Regions from separate parts of the Homo sapiens genome. Here region 2 is linked to region 1. Evidence: promoter capture Hi-C in human tissues and cell types (Jung and others, 2019). All regions are on one chromosome and are shown on one strand. Each heading gives the region's core, a stretch centred on a gene start or on the middle of the fragment in contact. The rest is flanking DNA. Distances are from core to core; before and after follow the strand shown. Region 1 holds the start of WWP2 (WW domain containing E3 ubiquitin protein ligase 2). Region 2 overlaps SNTB2 (syntrophin beta 2).

Region 1 (5,641 bases), core at 1,599-4,098:
ACCTAGGCTAGAGTGCAATGAGTGGCACGATCACAACTCACTGCAGCCTCCACCTCCCCAGGCTTGGGTGATCCTCCCACCTCAGCCTCCTGAGTAGCCAGGCGGGCGCCACTGCACCTGGCTAATTTTTGTATTTTTTGTAGAGACAGGGTTTCACCATGTTGCCCAGGCTGGTCCCAAATTCCTGGGCTCAAGCAATCTATCCACCTTGACCTCCCAAAGTGCTGGAATTATAGGCATGAGCCACCATGTCTGACCAACTATTTATAATTACGTTGTATTTAACCCAATAAATCCAAAATGTTATCATACATGTTTATACATTATATGATCGTTTACTATAACATAAAAAGTATCAATGAGACATTTTACTTTTCTTCATGCTAAGTCTTCAAAATCCAGAATGTATTTTATGCTCACAGCATAGCTCCAGTGCTCAGCAGCCCCATGTGGCTAGTGTACACCATACTGGACTCTACAACAATGCCTGGCAAAGACAGAGTGGGTACTTATAAATATTCACTGAATGAAAGAATGTTTTCCCAGGAAGAGGAAGCTATGGTAGAGTACAGCGTTTTCTAAACTTCATTTACTCACATTCTACATTCACAACTTTTTCTGTGTGATCTTTTTCCTTAAAATGTTACACTTTTTATTCCTGAAAAATTATGTAAAAATAAAACTTTCAGTTGGGCATGGTGACTTACACCTGTAATTGCAACACTTTGAGAGGCCGAGGTGGGAGGATCGCTTGAGCCCCGGAGTTTGAAAACAGCCCGGGCAACATAGCAAAACCCCTGTCTCTACAAAAATTAGCCAGGCGAGGTGGCACCCACCTGTAGTCCCAGCTGTTTGGGAGGCAGACATGGGAGGATCACCCGAGCCCAGGCAGGTCAAGGTTACAGTGAGCCGTGATTGTGCCACTGCACTCCAGCCTGGGCAACAGAGTAAGATCCTGTCTCAAAATAAAATAAAAATAAAATTTTCTATTGTGTCAATAAATGAAAAAGAATGGATCTAAGGATTAAGGGTCTGGGCTTGAGTCCCTACTCATTTACTAGCTCTGAAATCTAAAGTAAGGACTTCATTAAGCCTCAGTCTCTTCATGTGATATAGGGACAATACTGACCATCCCAATTTCAAAGGGAAGGTTAAGTGAGATGTTGGTATACGCTCTTTGTAAATGGGAAAGTAATCATGAAGTGAAAGAGACTGAGAAGCCAATCCAAGCCTTTCTCTCGAGCCTGTTTTCATATGGACCAATGACACAGATAATCACAAGCTTCTCTGACAAGAAAAAGAGTAGAAGACTTGGGTTCAAATCCTTTGTCACCACTTACGCCGGTGTGACTTTTAGAAATGCATTTATTCACCAAATATTTATCAAGTGCTCACAACATGCCAGGCACTAGGCTAGCAGCCAAATAAAATATGAAACCTGCCCTTGAAGGATTTGCAATCTAGCAGGAAGAGGCCAGCAAACAAGAAAGAGCAATAAATTGTTTTAAAAAATCAAGTCGTCTCTCGTAAGTCTGTTTGTTCCCTGTGAAATGAGAATACATCTTCCCAACCTCACTCATAGGCGCTGCTGCAAAAACTAATTTTTAAATGTTTGTCAAATAACTCCAAAAACTTGAACTCATAATACATTAGGAAAGTACTTTTTCCTACTTGTAACCCAAAACGATGCTGGCTGCTGTGAATGTCCAGTTTGAACATTCGTTCCAGTTACACTGCACTCATGAAACTCCTTTTGCTTCTGCAAATTTTAGTAAACATGAGAAACAGGAAGATGAACAGGCTTTAACACAAGTATTCAATCTCAAAATCATGATCCAGGTCACAGTTCTAAGGAACATAACACAGACCTCTCAGGCACCCTACCTAGTTACAGTTCGTCAAGATAAGCAGTCACAAGATAAGCTAAGGGAAACTGAATAATTTAAACGGAAGAAAGAGAAAAGTCATAAAGCAGTCTAGGTAGACACTTCTCTGTCCAAGATTTCAGCAGTCACTATGTTGCTGAGGTAACGCTGGGCTAGGTCAACAGTGTAAGCTAAAAGCCATTTTACAGGCAAAGTGCCCACACTTATTTTTTTAATTTATTTTCTTTTTTTGTTTTTTAAAGCCTCGATGATGGCCCGTTCAGGGAAAATCTCAAAGAAAAATGAGCTGAAGGGCTAGGCTCCCAAGAAGTGGAAACCCTACCCACGCAGGACTAAGTGGGCGCGAGGGAAGCAAGACGATCAAGATTCTGTGATCCCTCCTGAAGTTTAAAAACTGAATGGGACCGTCATCAAAGTCTCGGGTAACAATCATTTCCAAACAGGAAGGAAGGGAGAGACTCTCAGAGGGGGTCCAGGCAGCATCTTTTTCCCTCTGGCTCCACGCCATAAACCCATTTTCAGGCACCCCCTTCCAGCTCAGTTCCAAGTCGCCCCTTCCCCTGGTCCCGATCCCTCCACAAAGATCGCTCCTCTCCATGCCTGGGAACCTAAGCTCCTCTCCCCTTCCGGGAGGACTCGCTCCAGCTGCACCCTTGGCGGCCGGGGCACCCATTTCGGAGCAACCCCCGCGCGGGCCGCGGCGCGCCCACCCCACTCGGGCGGGAGCCGGGACACCCCTCCTCGGAGGCCGGAACCGCCGCGCCAGGCCCCTCCCACAGGAAGCCGCCGCCCCCCGACGCCCGGGCCGCGCCGCCCCCGGCCCACCCCGCGCCGCCCGCCGCCCCCGGCCCGCCCCGTGCAGGCAGCCAGCCCACCGCGCCCCCCGCGCCAGCGCTCGCTACCTGCCGTGGCCACAGAAGCGGCGCCGAACTCCTCTCCTACTTCCGCCTTCCACCGCCCGCACTCGGGCCGGGTCACGTGACCGCGCGCGGTCACCTGACCCGGAAGAGGCTGGCCAGGCTCGCAGGTGCGGGCCACCTAGGCCTGGCCTGGGCACCTCTGGCCTCGAGGAGGCCTTTTTATCGTCTCTGTAGTTGAAAGTGGAAGGGTTTCTGCTCACCGGATGGTCCCAGGCAATCAAATAAATTGAGGGCTCACTGAATGCCACCTACTCTGCCCATCAACCTTATAGAGGCAGGGACAGGTACTAGCCCCATTTTACAGGTGAAACGAGACCTTCAGACTGTTAAGTCAGCAAATACTTAATTGAGCTCCTTTAGTAGGGTTGCCAGATAAAGTACAGGACACCCACTTAAATTTGAATTTCAGATAAACAACAGTGTAATATGTATGTCCCAAATACAGAATGGGACATATTTATACTAAAAAAAGTATTTTTTGATTATCTGAAGATCAAATTGAATTGAGTATCTGTATTTCTATTTCCTGGCAACCTTATGCCTATTATGTGCCAGGCACTGTTCTAAGATCCAGGACCACAAACATCTCAGCCTTTGTGGGGCATCTGTCCTTGTGACATGAAGCAAAAGTACAAAAGCTTAAAAACTCCTGCTTGGCTCCATAAAAAGCCCCTCCACACTAATCCAATCGCATTCCCTTAATCTACAACTACAGGGCACAGAGAACTTAATGAATTATAATCCAGGTAGGTAGGTAGGTAGGTAGGTGGATAGATAGATGATATTTTTTTTTTTTTTTTTGAGATGGAGCCTCGCTCTGTCGCCCAGGCTGGAGTGCAGTGGTGCAGTCTCAGCTGACTGCAACCTCCGTCTCGCCGGTTCATGCAATTCTCCTGCCTCAGCCTCCCGAGTAGCTGGGATTACAGGCGTGCACCACCACGCCTGGCTAATTTTTGCATTTTTAGTAGAGACAGGGTTCCTCCATGTTGACCAGTCTGGTCTCGAACACCTGACTTCAAATGATCCGCCCACCTTGGCCTCCCAAAGTGCTGGGATTACAGGCATGAACCACCGCACCTGGCAGAGAAATATTTTTTTTAAGAGATGGGTCTGGATAGGTTGCTTTGGCTGGGCTCGAACTCCCAGCTTCAAGCAGTCCTCTTGCTTCAGCCTCCCAAGTAGCTGAGACTACAGGCGAATGCCACTGTGCCTGCCCAATAACTTTATTTATTTATTTATTTATTTATTTATTTGCTTGCTTGAGACAGAGTTTCACTCTTGTAGCCCAGGCAGGAGTGCAGTGGCTCAATCTTGGCTCACTGCAACCTCTGCCTCCCAGGTTCAAGCAATTCTCCTTCCTCAGCCTCCTGAGTAGCTGGGACTACAGGCACCCACCACCATGCCTGGCTAATTTTTGTATTTTTAATAGAGATGGGGTTTCACCATGTTGGCCAGGCTGGTCTCAAACTCCTAACCTCAGATGATCCACCTGCCTTGGCCTCCCAAAGTGCTCAGATTATAGGCGTGAGCCAATGCGCCCGGCCTCCAAGAACATTTTAAATAGACATTCTTGACTGATGTTCTGGACAAGTTGAATGAAGGCTCAGTTTAATCACCATTGATTAAAATTAATACTAATGACGTAATTAGCCTCAAAGACTTGTACTAATCTGTTATTTTTGGGTCTTCGAATTGGGATGGATTCTATCATGCATACAAATTAAATTGGCTGGTGGGGCGTGGAGGCTCACGCCTGTAATCCCAGCACTTTGGGAGGCAGAGGCAGGTGGATTACCTGAGGTCGGGAGTTCGAAACCCACTTGGCCAACCTGGTGAAACCCCATCTCTACTAAAACTACAAAAAAAAAAAAAAAAAAGATTCGCCGGGCATGGTCCGGGTGCGGGTAATCCCAGGTACTCCAGAACCTGAGGCAGGAGAATTGCTTGAACCCGGGAGGCGGAGGTGGCAGTGAGCCATGATAACGCCTCTGCACTCCAGCCTGGGCGACAGAGTGAGACTCTGTATCTAAATAAATAAATAGGTTGAACACTTAGTCTCTACTTTTTGTAGTACCACTCCAAATCCAAGAGATTAACTTTCAAGGAGATACAGTCCTGTCTTTGTACATTAAACCCTATATTAGTCTCATTTATAAAACTACTATAACTAAAACTTCTCCAGTTCCATTGATGGCAGTTTTACTAATTCTGTTCTAGATAAATTAGAGACTATTTCCTTGACTTACTAGCATTTGTTGGTTTCGGTTTGTTTTCTTCTTTCATATTTCATTTTTTATCTTTTGTTGCTTTTTTTTAACAACCCTGCAGAAAAGATTTAGTGGCATCTGAGTAAGTGTTCACCAAAGGGGAGAAGGGACAAGCAAAGAGCACACACTGCACATTAAAAGAATAAAATCTGACAGGGTGCGGTGGCTGGCACCTGTAATCCCAGTACTTTGGGAGGCCAAGGCGGGCAGATCAGACTGTCAGGGGCTCGAGATCAGACTGGGCAACATGGTGAAAACCCATCTCTACAAAAAATACAAATATTAGCTGGGCATGGTGGCACACACCCGTAGTCCCAGCTAATCAGGAGCCTGAGGCTTGAGAATCGCTTGAACCTGGGAGGCGGAGGTTGCAGTGAGCCAAGATTGCACACTGGACTCCAGCCTGGATGACAGGGTGAGACTCTGTCTCAAAAAAAAAAAATTGATATGATAAACTAGAAAATGAGAAATAGCCTCCAGCCATACTCTGTTACGGCAGGTAGCACAGGCACGTTCTAGATAATGAAGAGACTGAGTGGTGAGAAAGGTTGAGCCAGGTGCAATGGCT
Region 2 (5,641 bases), core at 2,302-4,801, 540 kb after region 1:
ACTTCAGCCTGGGTGACAGAGTAAGACCATGTCTCTTAAAAAAAAAAAAAAAAAAAATTCAGGCAGGCCACAGTGGCTCACACCTGTAATCCCAGCACTTTGGGAGGCCAAGGAGGGTGGATCACTTGAGCCCAGGAGTTCAAGACCAGCCTGGGCAACATGGCAAAATCCTATCTCTACAAAAAATTAAAAAAATAGCCAGGTGTGATGGCACGTGCCTGTAGTTCCAGCCACCCAGGAGGCTGAAGTGGGAGGATCATCTGAGCCTGGGTGGCTGAGGCTACAGTGTCTTGATCGTGCCACTGCACTCCAGCCTGAATGACAGAGTGAGATCCTGTCACTAAATAAATAAAGTGCCATCAAATAATAATGAAAAAAATTATTAGAAAAGTAATTTCAGAAATAGATTCAATAGCAAAACAATACAACGTCGGGGGAGTCACTCTTTAATAAATACTGAAGAAATAAGGGGGTATCAGTATGGAATTGCCTTACATCTGTATCTTATACCCTACAATGAATTTGCATTAGCCTACGATTGATGCTCTCTGGATATTTTTTGTAAAATCATTAATGCACAGCAACAAGCTTTAAAATCAAATGAACCTCAGCTCAAGTCTTGATATTACCGTTTATTTGTTGGGAGGTTTGAAGATTACCTCTGAGCCTCAGTTTTCTCATTTGCAAAACATAATATACCATCCTTAAGTGCTGTTGTGGGGGATTAAATGACATAATGTGTGAAAGGTACACAGGCCTGTGCTTGAGGGTTGTAGGCACTTAGTATGTGTATACTTACTTAGTGTGTATGTATACATATACTTAGTGTGTATGTACATAATTAATAGAATATGCTTCAGAGAGAGTATAGTATAGTGGACAGAGTCAAATATGTGAAACTGAACAGATCCAGATTTTAATTCCAGTTCTGCCAATTACAAACGTTGTGATTTTGGACAAATAATTTCACTTTAAAAATCTCAGTTTATAATTTATGAAATTCTTTTTTTTTTTTTTTTTTTTTTGAGATAGAGTCTCACCCTGTTGCCCAGGTTGGAGTGCAGTGGCATAATCTCAGCTCCCTGCAACCTCTGCCTCCCAGGTTCAAGCCATCCTCCCACCTCAACCTCCCAAGTAGCTGGGATTACAGGTGTGCACCACCATGCCTGGCTAATTTTTGTATTTTTAGTAGAGATGGGGTTTCACCATGTTGGCCAGGCTAGTCTCGAACTCCTGACCTCAGGTGACCCACACTCGTCAGCCTCCCAAAGTGCTGGGATTACAGGCATCAGCCACCGCGGCCGGTCATAATCTATGAAATTCTAATACTAAACCTAATACTAACTTTACCAAGTAACTGAGATGTTAAAGAAGCTTAACTAATAAAAGTAAACTGTTTAACAGTGTCTGAAAGACATTAGGCACTGAACATAACCTACAGAGTGAGCTTATTATGTACTATATCACTAAAGAATATCTAGACGTGGTAATTAAGATATCTCCAGAAAAGCTGGGCATAGGGGTGCACACCTGTAGTCCAAGCTACTCAGGAGGCTGAGAGGGGAGAATCGCTTAAGCCCAGGAATTTGAGGCTGCAGTGAGCTATGATCATGCCACTGAACTCCAGCCTGGGTGACAGAGTGAGACCCCATCTTACTTATCTTAAAAAAAAAAAAAAAAAAAAAAAAATCCAGAGAAACAGCAAGCTAACCATTCTTTGTCTCCCCTTCAGGAAAGGACCAATTTTTATAGAATATAACCTTCCTCATCTATATTCCTCTAACACTCTACATATCACTGACATGGCATCCGCCATATGTCACAGTTTTTGTTTTGTCTGTCTTGTCCACTTGACCAATGGGACACTGAAGGGATTAAAACTCAAGACACTATAAAAGTCAACAATAATTACAACACATCACTTCTACAGAGTTTATTCATAGTTTTTTAAACTTTTTTCCTAGTCACCCTTCAGAACTGTGTTGCGGTTTGTGTAGAGCCATTAGGCCTTGAATACATTATTTTGCACATTCATAAGGCAAAATTCATGTCTTTTTCCAGTTACACCCAATATTTCTGTGACAGTGGCTTGAAATTAATTATAGTTGCTTCTAACCTCTTAAAGCAAGGTGAACCCCACTCTATATGGCATCACTGTAACAATACGCATACAAAGGTGTAGCACAAATAAATTTTATACATTGGTCAAAAATTGTCAGTGCATTGAGAAACAGTTCATAGCTGGAATCACTAATGCACAGAAGATGTACAGTCAATATTGATTAGATGAATTATGAGAGATTCTGCACAAATACAGATATACTTTTACAGTCCTAATTTGTCTGTCCTAGTGAAATTCTCAGAAATATTTCTGGCATGAGTAACACAATTCAGTTAAATGTTGTTGCTAATTGCTCTAGATTAAGGATTCTTGCAACTGTTTGAATAAAAGGCCCTTGGTCAGCCCCACTATGTGCTTGTGAATATTTGGGAAATGGTCACTCTCTCCATATACTGAAGGTTGTCACATAGACTCTATATGTATAATCTTATCTGCTGAGGGGTTAATTCAGCTAAATTTCTTATTAAAACAAACCTGCCATAAAAGCAAAATTCTCCTTAGTAAACAATTATAAGCTTAAACAAATGGCTTCTGAATGAGCAGTTTGCTCCTGCAGTAACATAAAAACATAACCTTAGGGCCATGCACCATGGCTCACACCTGTAATCCCAGCATTTTGTGAGGCCAAGGCAGAAGGATTGCTTGAGCCCACAAGTTCAAGACCAGCTTGGGCAACATAGCGAGACCCCGTCTTTACAAAACAATTTAAAAATTAGCCTGATGTGGTGGCATATGCTTGTAGTCCCAGCAACTCAGGACACTGACGTGGGAGGACTGCTTGAGCTTGAGAGGTTGAGGCTGCAGTGAGCCACAATCCCACCACCGCACTCCAGTGTGACAGTGGGAGACCTTGTCTCAGAGAAAAGCAAGAAAGATAAATGAAGTCTTATCTATCATAAGGAGCCAATAATGGATTAAAATATTCTTATTAGAAAGTCAGTCCTTGCCTCAGGAACCCAACATATAGGGTTTTATCTATTGCTAGCACATATGATAGGAAACAAAGTTTTTTTTTTTTTTTTACTCTTAAGAATCATAGGGTGGGCATGGTGGCTCACGCCTGTAATCCCAGCACTTGGGGAGGCCGAGGCAGACAGATCACCTAAGGTCAGGAGTTCAAGACCAGTCTGGCCAACATAGTGAAACCCTGTCTCTACAAAAATACAAAAATTAGCTGGTCATGATGGCGGGTGCCTGTATTCCCAGCTACTTGGGAGGCTGAGGCGGGAGAATTGCTTTAACCCAGGAAGCAGAGGTTGCAGTGAGCCGAGATCACGCCATAGCACTCCAGCCTGGGCAACAGAGTGAGACTCCTTCTCGAAAAATCAAAAAACAAAAAACAGAAGAACTGGGCATCTCATGCCTTTAATCCTAGCACTTTGGGAGGCCGAGGCGGGCAGATCACTTGAGATCAGTAGTTTGAGACCAGCCTAGCCAACATGGTGAAACCCCATGTCTACTAAAACTACAAAAATTAGCCAGGTGTGGAGACGGGCGCCTGTAATCCCAGCTACTCAGGAGGCCGAGGTAGGAGAATCACTTGAACCCAGGAGGCGGAGGCTGCACTGAGCCGAGATCACATCACTGCACTCCAGCCTGGGTGACAGAGTGAGACTCCGTCTCCAAAACCAAAAAGAGCTACAATGTTCCCCCCTTTTCAACAACTCTCTCCTATGTGCAAAGCACGTGGATCTTTAAAATGTTTGACACACAAATCTTGTCCTCAAGTTATTTACTTGAGGAATAAAAGGAAGACATGTGTCCCCTAAAATAGGCCAACTAATAAAGTAGAAATTATAATAAGGCAAAACATGATACATGCTATAGAGGTGTAAATACAATGTTACACATAATTGGATGTAACAGCAGCAAATAAAATAAAATCACTGAAAAATATAAAAATACTTACTAATGTTTTTCCACTAGACAACAAAACTTCCACGAGACAACGAAATTTCCACTAGACAACAACAAAAAAACCATAGCAATTCAAGCGCAAGGAAATCGTTATCCGTATTTTTGTTGCTAAGTGGATATGTTCTGGACTAGCTGGATAAACCGGATGCTTTGTTTTAGATCAGCACCCTGAATGATAAACTATAGACGGAAATACAATATTAACCCAGCACAATAGCTGTGTTCAAAGGGTCAGCAACCACTCCATCCTGAACATCCAGTTAGAGTCACCACTTAGGAACAAGAAAGTCCTCCAAGTTTCCATGTCTTTAAATACTTGGTAATTTTCTTTTCTCTTTTTTGTATAAAAGAAATCCTGTAAGTTACTGCCAGGCCTTCATTGTTATTAGAGCTTTTCAGACCAAATAGGCAGAATTAACTGAGTTCAGGGAAAGAGAAAAGACAAAGATGTCTTCGTGTTCTTTCCCTCTTCATTCTTACATAACACATACTAATGAATTCCACTGTAGTAAACTCAGAACCGTCAGAGTTAATAGCAATCAACTACTGCATGTTAAGTAATATTGTGTGACACTGGTCAACCCACATACTGTAACTTTATCTGCTGATAATTTGTTTTATTAATTTTCTTAATGAAAAAGTAATAAAAACAAAAGCTGGAACAATTTGAGCATCAAAATAAGTAACAGTAATACAGGATTATAACCCACAGAATAAAATAAATATCCAAGAGTCCACAATAATATAAATAATGTAATAAATACATAAATGGAGGAGAAGGGCCAGCTCTTTCTTACAGAAGAATTCTCATTAGTAAGTGTAGTAGGCATGAGATAAATAGAAAATCATCATTAAAACACTATAGTAATCATTGTTGCAGGCAAGATCCAATGATTTATGCTAAAATTACTGGGCAAAAGTTTAAAGAATAACTGTGTGTTTGCATAATCTCACCATATTTTCCAAGATACTTATTAATTACAAAGGAAACAGTGGCTCACGCCTGTAATCCCAGTACTTTGGGAGGCCAAGGCAAGCGGATCATGAGGTCAGGAGTTCGAGACCAGCCTGGCCAACATGGTGAAACCCCGTCTCTACTAACGATACAAAAAATCAGCCGGGCGTGGTGGCGCGAGCCTGTAATTCCAGCTACTAGGGAGGCTGAGGCAGGAGAATCGCTTGAACCTGGGAGGCAGAGGTTGCAGTGAGCCAAGATCGCACCACTGCACTCCAGCCTGGGCAACAGGGCAAGACTCCGTCTCAAAAAAAAAAAAAAAAAAATTGCAAAGGAAAAATAGTAACTTTATGTGGAGAAACATGACAGTAATCAAGGTTTATATGACTAGATTAAGAAATATTGAAGTCATATCCCACCCCTGCCCAATATGATACACTGAGAATGATACATCACTTCTCTGGTTTCCTTCCCAAGAATGAGTAACCTCCATATATTCATGATGAAATAAGACAAACCCAATTGAGGGACATTCTACAAAACCACTGACCAGTATTCTTCTAAAGTGTCAAGGTCATAAAAGAAAAGACAAGACTGAAGAACTGTCGGCCGGGTGTGGTGGCTCACGCCTGTAATCCCAACACTTC

Evidence for each region. The method cuts DNA at HindIII sites, captures the fragments that hold promoters and counts their contacts. A contact is called where the count stands out against the background at its distance.
Region 2: a fragment that was not itself captured here is called in contact with the fragment with the promoter of WWP2 in region 1 in 1 of the 25 tissues and cell types used here (aorta).

The regions. Positions count from the first base shown.
Region 1 is chr16:69,759,539-69,765,179 of GRCh38, reverse strand. It overlaps WWP2 (WW domain containing E3 ubiquitin protein ligase 2), which reads right to left and starts at 2,848. Exons shown (of 24, transcript NM_001270454.2): 1 at 2,789-2,848. RefSeq lists silencers at 2,372-2,421, 2,442-2,601, 2,622-2,761 and an enhancer at 2,465-3,043. The HindIII fragment of the contact is 7,232 bases long and covers 1-5,277 here.
Region 2 is chr16:69,223,890-69,229,530 of GRCh38, reverse strand. The region is part of intron 1 of SNTB2 (syntrophin beta 2); the gene reads right to left. Among named protein-coding and RNA genes, the nearest start is that of SNTB2, 40 kb to the right of the region's middle. The HindIII fragment of the contact is 3,089 bases long and covers 2,007-5,095 here.